Regions from separate parts of the Homo sapiens genome. Here regions 2, 3 and 4 are each linked to region 1. The links are contacts of gene promoters, found by promoter capture Hi-C in human tissues and cell types (Jung and others, 2019). All regions are on one chromosome and are shown on one strand. Each heading gives the region's core, a stretch centred on a gene start or on the middle of the fragment in contact. The rest is flanking DNA. Distances are from core to core; before and after follow the strand shown.

The links. Contacts are between HindIII fragments. The study calls those that stand out against the background at their distance.
Region 2: a contact is called between a fragment that was not itself captured here and the fragment with the promoter of EEF2K in region 1, in 1 of the 25 tissues and cell types used here (H1 embryonic stem cells).
Region 3: a fragment that was not itself captured here is called in contact with the fragment with the promoter of EEF2K in region 1 in 2 of the 25 tissues and cell types used here (lymphoblastoid cells and mesendoderm cells).
Region 4: a contact is called between a fragment that was not itself captured here and the fragment with the promoter of EEF2K in region 1, in 1 of the 25 tissues and cell types used here (spleen).

The regions. Positions count from the first base shown.
Region 1 is chr16:22,204,991-22,207,564 of GRCh38, forward strand. EEF2K (eukaryotic elongation factor 2 kinase) reads left to right here and starts at 1,288. Exons shown (of 18, transcript NM_013302.5): 1 at 1,288-1,689. RefSeq lists silencers at 1,059-1,358, 1,519-1,788. The HindIII fragment of the contact is 13,900 bases long and covers 1-2,574 here.
Region 2 is chr16:21,280,608-21,283,181 of GRCh38, forward strand. It overlaps a transcript of CRYM not described here. Among named protein-coding and RNA genes, the nearest start is that of CRYM, 3.6 kb to the left of the region's middle. The HindIII fragment of the contact is 6,987 bases long and covers 1-2,574 here.
Region 3 is chr16:21,340,578-21,343,151 of GRCh38, forward strand. No RefSeq gene overlaps it. Among named protein-coding and RNA genes, the nearest start is that of CRYM, 64 kb to the left of the region's middle. The HindIII fragment of the contact is 4,162 bases long and covers 1-2,574 here.
Region 4 is chr16:21,590,770-21,593,343 of GRCh38, forward strand. The region is part of intron 2 of LOC101927814 (a long non-coding RNA gene); the gene reads right to left. Among named protein-coding and RNA genes, the nearest start is that of METTL9, 7.5 kb to the right of the region's middle. The HindIII fragment of the contact is 6,124 bases long and covers 1-2,574 here.

The DNA.
Region 1 (2,574 bases), core at 38-2,537:
CCAATCTTGCTTTGGGCTTGGACAGACTAGTTCAGCATCTTTGATCTTCCCTTCCTGCCTGACGGCCCCAGGGTCAGAATTCCAGGTGCAATTTTGTCTTGCCAAAAGCTGGAGTTTACTCTCTTTGGGGTTTATAAATAAGGAAAAAAGTTCTTTGGAGAGCCTGAACTTTGAAATCAGAGAAGTCTGGATTTACTGCTGGCTCTGCCTTTTCTAGCTGCCTCACCTGGGGCATGTCATTATCTCTATAAGCCTCAGTTTTGTTCTTTTTTCTTTTTTATTTTTTTGTTTTTGTTTTTTTGCGACGGAGTCTCATTCCTTCACCCAGGCTGGAGTGTAGTGGCGCGATCTCGGCTCACTGCAACCTCTGCCTCCAGGGTTCAAGCGATTCTCGTGCCTCAGCCTCCAGAGTAGCTGGGACTACAGGCGCGCCCGGCTGCTTTTTTGTATTTTTACTAAAGACAGGGTTTTACCGTTTTGGCCAGGCTGGTCTCGAACTCCTGACCTCAGGTGATCTGCCGGCCTCGGCCTCCCAAAGTGCTGGGAAGATGGAATGAGAGAAATCCCTCAAAACATGTCATTGTTACTACTTTTCTATCTAGAATGTGTGAAATTTCTAAAATTTCACTAACAAAGTATCTGGAAGGACCTAATATTAAAGTGTTCACAGTAGCTATTAGTTTTAATTCGTTTTCTTTTTTATACCTTAGCCACTCTACCACTCATGCCACAGGTATTTATTAAGCATCTACTGTGTGCCACCCAGGCCCTGTGTCAAGAGTTAGGAATAACTAAAGGAGATACTAATTTTAAAACTACACAAATAATTGCAATCGTCATACGTGCCTGTTTTTACAAAGCAGAAATCAGGAAAAACAAAGTATTTCCGATAAAAAATATTTTAAGGTTATGGATAGAGATACATACAAACAAGCGATGGGCTTGGATCACTAATGATTTTGGAAAGGACAGGAATACAGGAACTAAGCGAGAAGCAGGCGAGAATGGCGAGGCGCGGCGGGAGAGGACGGAAGTTGGTCACTCCCTCGAATTGCCCCCTCGCTGCCGGATGCTAGGCCAGCCTTGAGCAGGAGAACCGGACACTGTGTACTCAGCAGGGGGAGCCAAGACTTAGCGCTAACCATTGCACCTGGGGCTGGGAGCCAGCGCCGGAGCCAGGAGGCCCGCTAGGCGGCTGCAGGCGCTGTGATGGCCACCTGGGGGCGGCCACGTGAGCGCCACGCCGTGCGCCCGCCAGGCCAGCCCCGCCCCTGCCCGCCCGCTTCTGCTCAACCTAGACCAGCCCCAGCTTCAGCCTCAGCTCCCCTCCTTCCTGGATCGAGCGCCCGCACTCCCGGCCCTGCAGCCACCCGAGTCCCGCTCGCTGTCGCCTGCACGCGAGTCCCCCCTGGCACGCGCTCCCACATCCCGGGATCGTCCCAACGGCCCCTGCGCCCTTCCTGGGATCACTCCGACTGCCCCGCGCGCCCTGGGATCGGTCCATCTACCCCGCGTGGCCCCAGCTGCTTGCCCGGAGCGCCAGCTAGCGCTCCCCGCTCTCCGCTCCCCGGCACTCTCGGGGGGCCCGCCCGCCCTGCACCCTGGAGCTCCGGGCCGCGAGCCTCTGCCAACTCCTCTGGACCCTCGCGGCCGTGGGCAGCGGCTGCCGCGCCTGTCTGCCCGAGGGAGGTAGGTGTGGACCGCGGCCGGCAAGGCTGTGGGGGGCTGGGAGCCCGCGCTGCAGGCCTGTGCGCCCGGGTGCAGCTGGCGTCTGGAGCGTGCTGGGTCTGGGCTTGGGAATGGGGCCGGAGAAGGCATGGAAGGAGAGTGTGGGGGCGCTTCTCCTCTGGTTGTTAAACTCTCTGGGGCTAAGTGCTTGCTTTGGAGAAATGGGGAAGTTGTGCGGATTAAAGGCGATGTGGATATGGAAAGCAATTGGCAAGCAATGGGCGGTGATCTGGCTGCAAGTGACAGAGAGTTTGGGGGCCTCCCCCCTCGGGGCCCCTAGAGTGTGGGCGCATCGCTGCCTTCCTGTCCCCTGCAGGGCTCAGAGCCGCATCCCCCACCTTTCCCCTGAACTAGAGGCCTGCGTCAGCCCGAATTCCCGGAACCTCCAGGACTGTATAGACGCGCCCTTGCTGCATTGTTGGCTGCGGGAGTTTGTTGGCAGGCGCTGCTGACATGTGTGCCAAGGGGCTGGGCATTAATAAGCCGGTGGCCGCGCGGGGGTGGGGGCCTCCCGGGTAAGCCCCGGCCTAGATCCTTTTGCGCGCGCCTGGGGGATTTCGGGGAACCAGCCCAGCTGCGCCCTGAGTGTGACAGATGGGCCGCATGGGGAAGTGAGATCTGCCCAGGGGGACGGTCCCAGGGAGCCCGACCTCTGGGACCTCGGTGGTGGGTGCTTCTTCAGCCAGGAAAGCAGGAAACACTAGGGCTGGAGTCCTGGGTTGGAATTCTAGCTCATTTATGCTCTCTGGCCCTCGGTTTTCTCATCGGTAAAATGGGTACAGTATTAGTATCTACCACTTAGTATCCTTGGAAAGAGTAGATGAGTATGTATATGTCAGGTGCTTG
Region 2 (2,574 bases), core at 41-2,540, 920 kb before region 1:
CTCTTTGTGGCAATACGATAACAAATTATAAACAGGATCTAAGGCCATGCCAGGAAGGGTTAAGTCACGCACCCTTACACTTAAAGAAAAAAGCTATGTTCTAACTGCCACAGAGTTTTTGTTTTCTCCAGCAGCTAAACAAGCACTGGCTTGAAGATAAGCAATATTTTTGTTTTTGTTTTCCCCAGCCCTGCTCAGAGAAGATAGGGAACATGGCTTGGGCACAGTGGCTCACACCTGTAATCCCAGCACTTTGGGAGGCCAAGGCGGGCGGATCATGTGAGGTCAGGAGTTTGAGACCAGCCTGGCCAACGTGATGAAACCCCATCTCTACAAAAAGTACAAAAATTAGCCAGGTGTGGTAGCATGTGCCTGTAATCCCAGCTACTCAGGAGGCTGAGGCAGGAGAATTGCTTGAACCAGGGAGGTGGAGGTTGCAGTGAGCCGAGATCGTGCCACTGCACTCCAGCCTGGACAACAGAGTGATTCTCTCTCTCTCTCACTCTCTCTCTCTCTCTCTCTCTCTCTGTATATATATATATACACAAACATATATGTATATACATATATACGTATCTATGTATCTATATAGATATGTATATGTATCTATGTATCTATATAGATATGTATATATGTGCATATATATATATATAAATTTTTTTTTTGAAACAAAGTCCCTCTCTGTCACCCAGACTGGAGTGCAGTGGCATGATCTCAAGTGATTCTCCTGCCTCAGCCTCTCAGGTAGCTGGGATTACAGGTGCATGCCACCACCCCCGGCTAATTTTTGTACTTTCAGTAGAGATGGGGTTTTGTCATGTTGGCCAGGCTGGTCTCGGTCTCGAACTCCTGACCTGAGATGATCCACCCGCCTTGGCCTCCCAAAGTGCTGGGATTACAGGCATGAGCCACCGTGCCCGGCTGAAGATATGCAATATTAAAACAATTACAACTCATCCAAATCACAGATATTGACTAACCGACCCCTTGTTCCACCAGCCATAACTACAGCTTGATTGGACAAGAGACTGATTTCAGTAACTTTCTCCTGATAAGACTACCGACTATAGGATGGTTCTGGCTGACTTACAGAGGTTGCACACTTGCATGCCTTCATGTCCTGAAAAGACCTTTTGACGTATCAGGCTGAATTGTAATACATTTAAATGCTGCAACCACCCCAAAATGAACATGAGTTGTATGTAACATGCATGTTTGTTAAATACACATGCATCAGGACCACTTTCATGAATATTCATAGCTTCTTCTCTCACCTGTTGAATATGTATATTTAGCCAACCTGTTGAGCATAAAGCTCCTACCCCAACCCTCCTCCTTCAAAGTGCCTGTCTCTGATCTTGGCCAAGGCATGTGATATGGTTTGGCTCCATGTCCACACCCAAATCTCTTCTTATAGCTCCCATAATTCCCACATCTTGTGGGAGGGACCCAGTGGGAGATGACTGAATCATGGAGGCGGGTCTTTCCCCTGCGGTTCTGATGATAGTGAATGAGTCTCACGAGATCTGATGGTTTTAAAAATGGGAGTTGCCCTGCACAAGCTCTCTCTTTGCTATTGCCCTCCATGTAAGATGTGACTTGTTCCTCCTTGCCTTCCACTATGATTGTGAGGCCTCCCCAGCCATGTGGAACTGTAAATCCAATAAGCCTCTTTCTTCTGTAAATTGCCCAGTCTCAGGCATGTGTTTATAGACAGCATGAAAACGGAATAATACAGCGTGCTTCCCAGCATAGGATCCCACCTTGCAGGCTGTAACCTCGTATAAGAAAGTCTCTTCTTGTCTAAATTTATAAATTGTGTGGTTTTTTTTTTAAAGTTAACAAGGAGAAAAAAAGCAAAACCAAATACTCATCAACTAAAAGAGATATGAAATAAGAAAGCCAGATATTTATTTGCTTCCATAGTAAATTCAGGAATTTAGCCCCGATTAAATAGAAATCTTATTTCTGACTCCCACATTACTAGAAAGTTTATTAATCTTCTTTAAGTCATGATTATAATAGTAATTTCATTATTTTAACAATGACAAAATAAGAAACCTCAATAATAGGAATTCACTCCAGTGAATCCTGTAGAAACAGGACAACTCTGCAAATCATCTCAAATCATCTTCCTGATAAAGCTTTGGTTCACATCACCCAGGTCCTCAGTAAAGTAGCACTGAGAAAACTAGTCTTGGTTGCATCACTTCTTTTGAGACCAGAGGCACAGAGAACTAATTGTCCCAAGCCTCCAATAATAAGTATTATTAATAAGTAGCATATTAAATATTAGGTGTTATTGAGGTTTATTTTATTATTATTAAAATAATGAAATTATTATTATAATTATGACTTAACAGAAAGAAGATTAATAAACTTTTTAGTAATGCAGGGGTCAGTATTGAGAAAGCTGGTGTAAATCTCTTTTCCCCGCCCTTCCCTGAGACCTTGTCCTGGGACAAGCCTGGGGGCCATGTAAGCTCCTGTGCCTGAGCCTCTGGAAGTTCCCTGCTAACCCCTAACAGACCCTGCGGAGGAGGTGGTTACTTACATCCCCCTAGACTTCTGCCA
Region 3 (2,574 bases), core at 37-2,536, 860 kb before region 1:
TGGCGTGAACCCGGGAGGCGGAGCTTGCAGTGAGCCGAGATCACGCCACTGCACTCCAGCCTGGGGGACAGAGCGAGACAACATCAAAAAAAAAAAAAAAAAAAAAAAGATATTGCAGGTTGAGATAGGCCTGGAAATGCTATGCTTCAATCAAGGTAGGTTTGTGAAGGATTTGAAGATGGGAATGAATAGGAAGTCAAGTCAGTGGATGCAGCTATACATTCATTCATTTGTTAACATTTTTGGATATCTGTGACTGGGCATGGTGGCTCACACTTGTAATCCCAGCACTTTGGGAGGCTGAGGTGGGTGGATCACTTGAGGTCAGGACTTCGATACCAACCTGGCCAGCATGGTGAAACTCCGTCTCTATTGAAAATACAAAAATTAGCCATGTGTGGTGGTGGGCACCTGTAATCCCAGTTACTCAGGAGGCTGAGGCAGGAGAGTCACCTGAACCTGGGAGGTGGAGGTTGCAGTGACCCGAGATCGTGCCACTGCACTCCAGCCTGGGCAACAGAGTAAGAGTCCGTCTCAAAAAAAAAAAAAAGAAAAATGTGGATATCTGAACTTGTACCATGTCTAATATACAAAGACCAAGAAAAATCATTTCTTTTCCCATTGAGGGCTCACATGCAAAGTGTTTTATGAATTTACAGCCTCACTAGAAGGAGATGAGAATTCCTCATGCTCCATATTCTTGCCAATATTTAGAATTGCCAAGCTTTTAATTGTGCCAAATTAGGGATATGAAATGTTATCGCATAGCAATTTAAATCTACATTTCCCAATTGTTAATGAAGCTGTGTGTTACTAATATGAGTCATGTGTGTCTCCTCTTCTGTAACTGTTAGCGCATTCTGATTTTTTATAGTTATTGAAATTTTCTGACAATATTTTTACTTAAAGTCTATTTTGTCTGATATTCATATAACCACCCTGATCTCTTTTTGTTATTTTCATGGAGTATCTTTTTCCATCCTTTCACTTTCAACCAGTTTGTATATTTGAATCATTTTTAAAAAATCCATTCTGCCACCCTTGCCTTTTATTGAAGATAATAATACAGAACATTGGCCGGGCGTGGTGGCTCACACCTGTAATCCCAGCAGTTTGGGAGGCTGAGGCAGACACATCACAAGGTCAGGAGTTCGAGACCAGCCTGACCAACATGGTGAAACCCTGTCTTTACTAAAAATACAAAAATTAGCTGGGCGTGGTGATACGTGCCTGAAATCCCAGCTATTCAGGAGGCTGAGGCAGAAGAACTGCTTGAACCTGGGAGGCAGAGGTTGCAGTGAGCCAAGATCGTGCCACTGCATTCCAACCTGGGTGACAGAGCGAGACTCCATCTCAAAAAAAAAAAAAAAAATACAGAACTGACATCTGCCGTTTTGGTATTTGTTTTATATATGTCATATCTTTTTTCTCTCATAGCTTCCATTTTGAGTCCCATCTAATTTCCTTTTCTGTATATTTTCTAGTTCTTCTCTGAGGGGATAATTTGGATTTTACAATTAGTATCTTAAACAATTTAATTTGGGTTAATAACAATTTAGCTTTAATACTATACAAAAGCTCTTCTGTCAAGCTTCAGCCCCTCTTTGTGTTGGTATTTTTGCAAATTACATCTTTATATTGTGTGCCTATTAACATGTTTATCATTATTTTATGCATTTATCTTTTAAATCATATAGAAGGAAAAAGAAACCATTATCATAACACTGGCTTTTATATCTGCCTATGTAGTTACCTTCACTGGAGCTCTTTATTTTTTCATGTGACTTCATGTTACCATCTAATGTCCTTTCATTCAGCTGAAAGAACTATATTATAGGGCAGGTGTATTAGCAAATTTTCTTAGCTTTTGCTAATCTGGCAATTTCTAATATCTCCTAATTTTTTTTTTTTTTTTTTTTTTTTGAGACAGAGTCTTGCTATGTTGCTGAGGCTGGAGTACAGTGGCCTTTCTACTACAATGAGGAATTCTGCCTTGGGACTTGAGAGAGGTAGCAGTCCTAGGGTGTGGGTTAGGGGCATTCACTGAAATACCATGTAGCAGCGTAACCTGTGGCTATTGAAATGTGGCTGTAGGAATATTGCTCATGACTTGACTTCTGCTCTTGAATATTCATAGCTGGGCAGCAGAGAGCGATGTGAGGACTATACTTATGGCATGATACCATTTTTATTGCAAATATATAGGTATATGTGGAAGTTGATTAAAAATTTATGTGTGATCATTTTTACAGTGCCTATCTCTAGGTAGTAGGATAATTTTTATTTTTCCCTTTGTCTTTTATTGTAGTTTCTCAGTTATTTCCAATAAGCACTGCATTAATTTTATAGTTGTAAAAAATGTTGTTTAAAAGTCAGGGAGCCCAGGCGTGGTGGCTCATGCCTGTAATCCCAGCACTTTGGGAGGCTGAGGCAAACTGATCACCTGAGGTCAGCAGTTCGAGATCAGCCTGGACAACATGGTGAAACCCCGTCTCTACTAAAAATACAAAACTTAGCCAGGTGTGGTGGCACATGCCTCTAATCCCAGCTACTTGGGAGGCTGAGGCAGGAGAA
Region 4 (2,574 bases), core at 28-2,527, 610 kb before region 1:
GACACTTCCCCCATGTATTTCATATAAACCATAAGTTTTAATGTTTCATATTTATAAAATAAGAAGCCTTTATAATTTCAAAATAAATACCCACGGTGAATTTGGTGGAGAGGAAGCAGTCATTTAGAAGAGCAAGCCCACATACATGCAAAAGAAAGCAATTAAGAGGCCAAGGACAGGGTTGTTTCGAAAGGATATTTAAAACTAGATGAAAGATATTTGGACCTTCAAAAATGCCCTAGAAACTGAATGAAAGCAACAGCCTTCTGTCTTTTGTCAGAGCTCTGACTCATAGACCTGTTATTGGAAGGACATTATTTAGTTGAAATATATATTTAAAAATACTTATATTCCTTTAAGTAGCTTATACTGTATGTGAAGATGTCTTTTAAGGATTCAGAAGCACAGGCAGAAGGATCTGTATAAATACAGAAGTGGGCTGGGCGTGGTGGCTCACGCCTGTAATCCCAGCACTTTGGGAGGCTGAGGCGGGGTGGATCACCTGAGGTTGGGAGTTCGAGACCAGCCTGACCTACATGGAGAAACCGCCTCTCTACTAAAAATACAAAAAAAATCAGCCAGGCATGGTGGCGCATGCCTGTAATCCCAGCTACTCAGGAGGCTGAGGCAGGAGAATCGCTTGAACCCGGGAGGCGGAGCTTGCAGTGAGCCGAGATCCCGCCATTGCACTCCAGCCTGGGTAACAAGAGTGAAAGTCCATCTTGAAAAAATAAAAATAAAAAAAAAGCACAACTTAGGTGGTACAAAACATGTGTATTAAAATGCCTAATTTAGAGGCCAGGCATGGTAGCTCATGCCTGTAATCCTGGCACTTTGGGAGGTCGAGGCAGGCAGATCACTTGAGTCCAGGAGTTCAAGACCAGCCTGGGCAACATGGCGAACTGTGTCTCTATAAGATAACATAAAAAACTAGCCGGGCATGGTGGTGTGTGCCTGTAGCCCCAGCTACTTGGGGGGCTGAGGTGGGAGGATCGCTTGAGCTAGGAGGCGGAGGTTGCAGTGAGCTGAGATTGTGCAACTGCACTCCAGCCTGGGCAACAGAGACCCTGTCTCAAAAAATAATAATTAAATAAAATAAAATGCCTAATTCACACAGTTCTGTTGGAGAAACTGATTCATTTGGTGGAGCCCAGGATTTAGGTTGAAGGACTCTCCCTAATTAATTTGTCTTATAGTAGACTAAGTTTAAAGTAGATGGCTGTTCATCTCTTGGACTGCTTAAGTAACTTGTCCAAGGAGAGCTAGGTTTACATCTGCCTTATGATTCCATAATAACCACCACAGCTACTATCTGAGAGCTGACTATATATATAGGGGATTGTGCTGACAGCTGCCCAGACAACTCATTTCGTTTTCTCCAGGACTCTGTGAGTGTATGTGAGGGACACTGGGATTCCTCACATTCTAGAAGGCTCTGATGAGCAGTCGGAGGTAGCAGGTGGGACTCTACTCCAGAGGTTGAGCTCGGACACTGGAGTGGACACTGGACCAGATTAAGAACTAGCCAAAACAGGGCCTGGGCGAAAGTAGTTTTAATCAGACATGCTCACCAGTGTGCCATGTCGATTTACCACTGCCATGGCAACACTCGACAGTTACTGTCACTTTCCATGGCAGTGATCCAATGACCTAGGAGTTACTGCCCATTCCCTAGAAATTTCTGCATAAACAGCTCTTTAATCTACATGCAATTATTTATTTATTTATTTATTTTTTGAGACAGAGTCCTGCTCCATTGCCCAGGCTGGAGTGCAGTGACATGCGATCTCGGCTCACTGCAACCTCTGCCGCCCGGGTTCAAGCGACTCCTGCCTCAGCCTCCTGTGTAGCTGGGATTACAGGCGCCTGCCACCACACCTGGCTATTTTTTGTATGTTTAGTAGAGATGGGGTTTCACCATGTTGGCCAGGCTGGTCTCGAACATCTGACCTCATGATCCACCCACCTCAACCTTCCAAAGTGCAGGGATTATAGGCATGAGCCACCATGCCCAGCCTCCCACTTTTAGTTTCAAGTACAGGCTGGGTACAGTGGCTCTCGCCTATAATCCCAGCACTTTGGGAGGTCGAGGCAGGCAGATCATGAGGTCAGGAATTCGAGACCGCCTGGCCAACATGGTGAAACCCCGTCTCTACTCAACATAGAAAAATTAGTTGGATGTGGTGGCGCATGCCTGTAGTCCCAGCTACTCAGGAGGCTGAGGCAGGAGAGTCACTTGAACCTGGGAGGCGGAGGTTGCAGTGAGCTGAGATCGTGCCACTGCACTCCAGCCTGGCGACAGAGCGAGACTCCATCTCAAAAAAAAAAAAAAAAAAGTGGGTATAAATATGGCTACAGAACTGAACTACCCTCAGCTGCTACTCTCTCCCTATGGGGTAGCCCTGCTCTGCAGGAGCAGTCATGGAGCTGTAACACAGCCTCTTCAATATAGCTGTTTTCTTCTACCTCTGGCTTGCCTTTGAATTCCTTCCTGATAAAGCCAAGAACCCAGAGGGCTAAGCACCACTTTGGGACTTGCCTGTCCTGCACTATCTCCATTTCTGTTGTCACAAT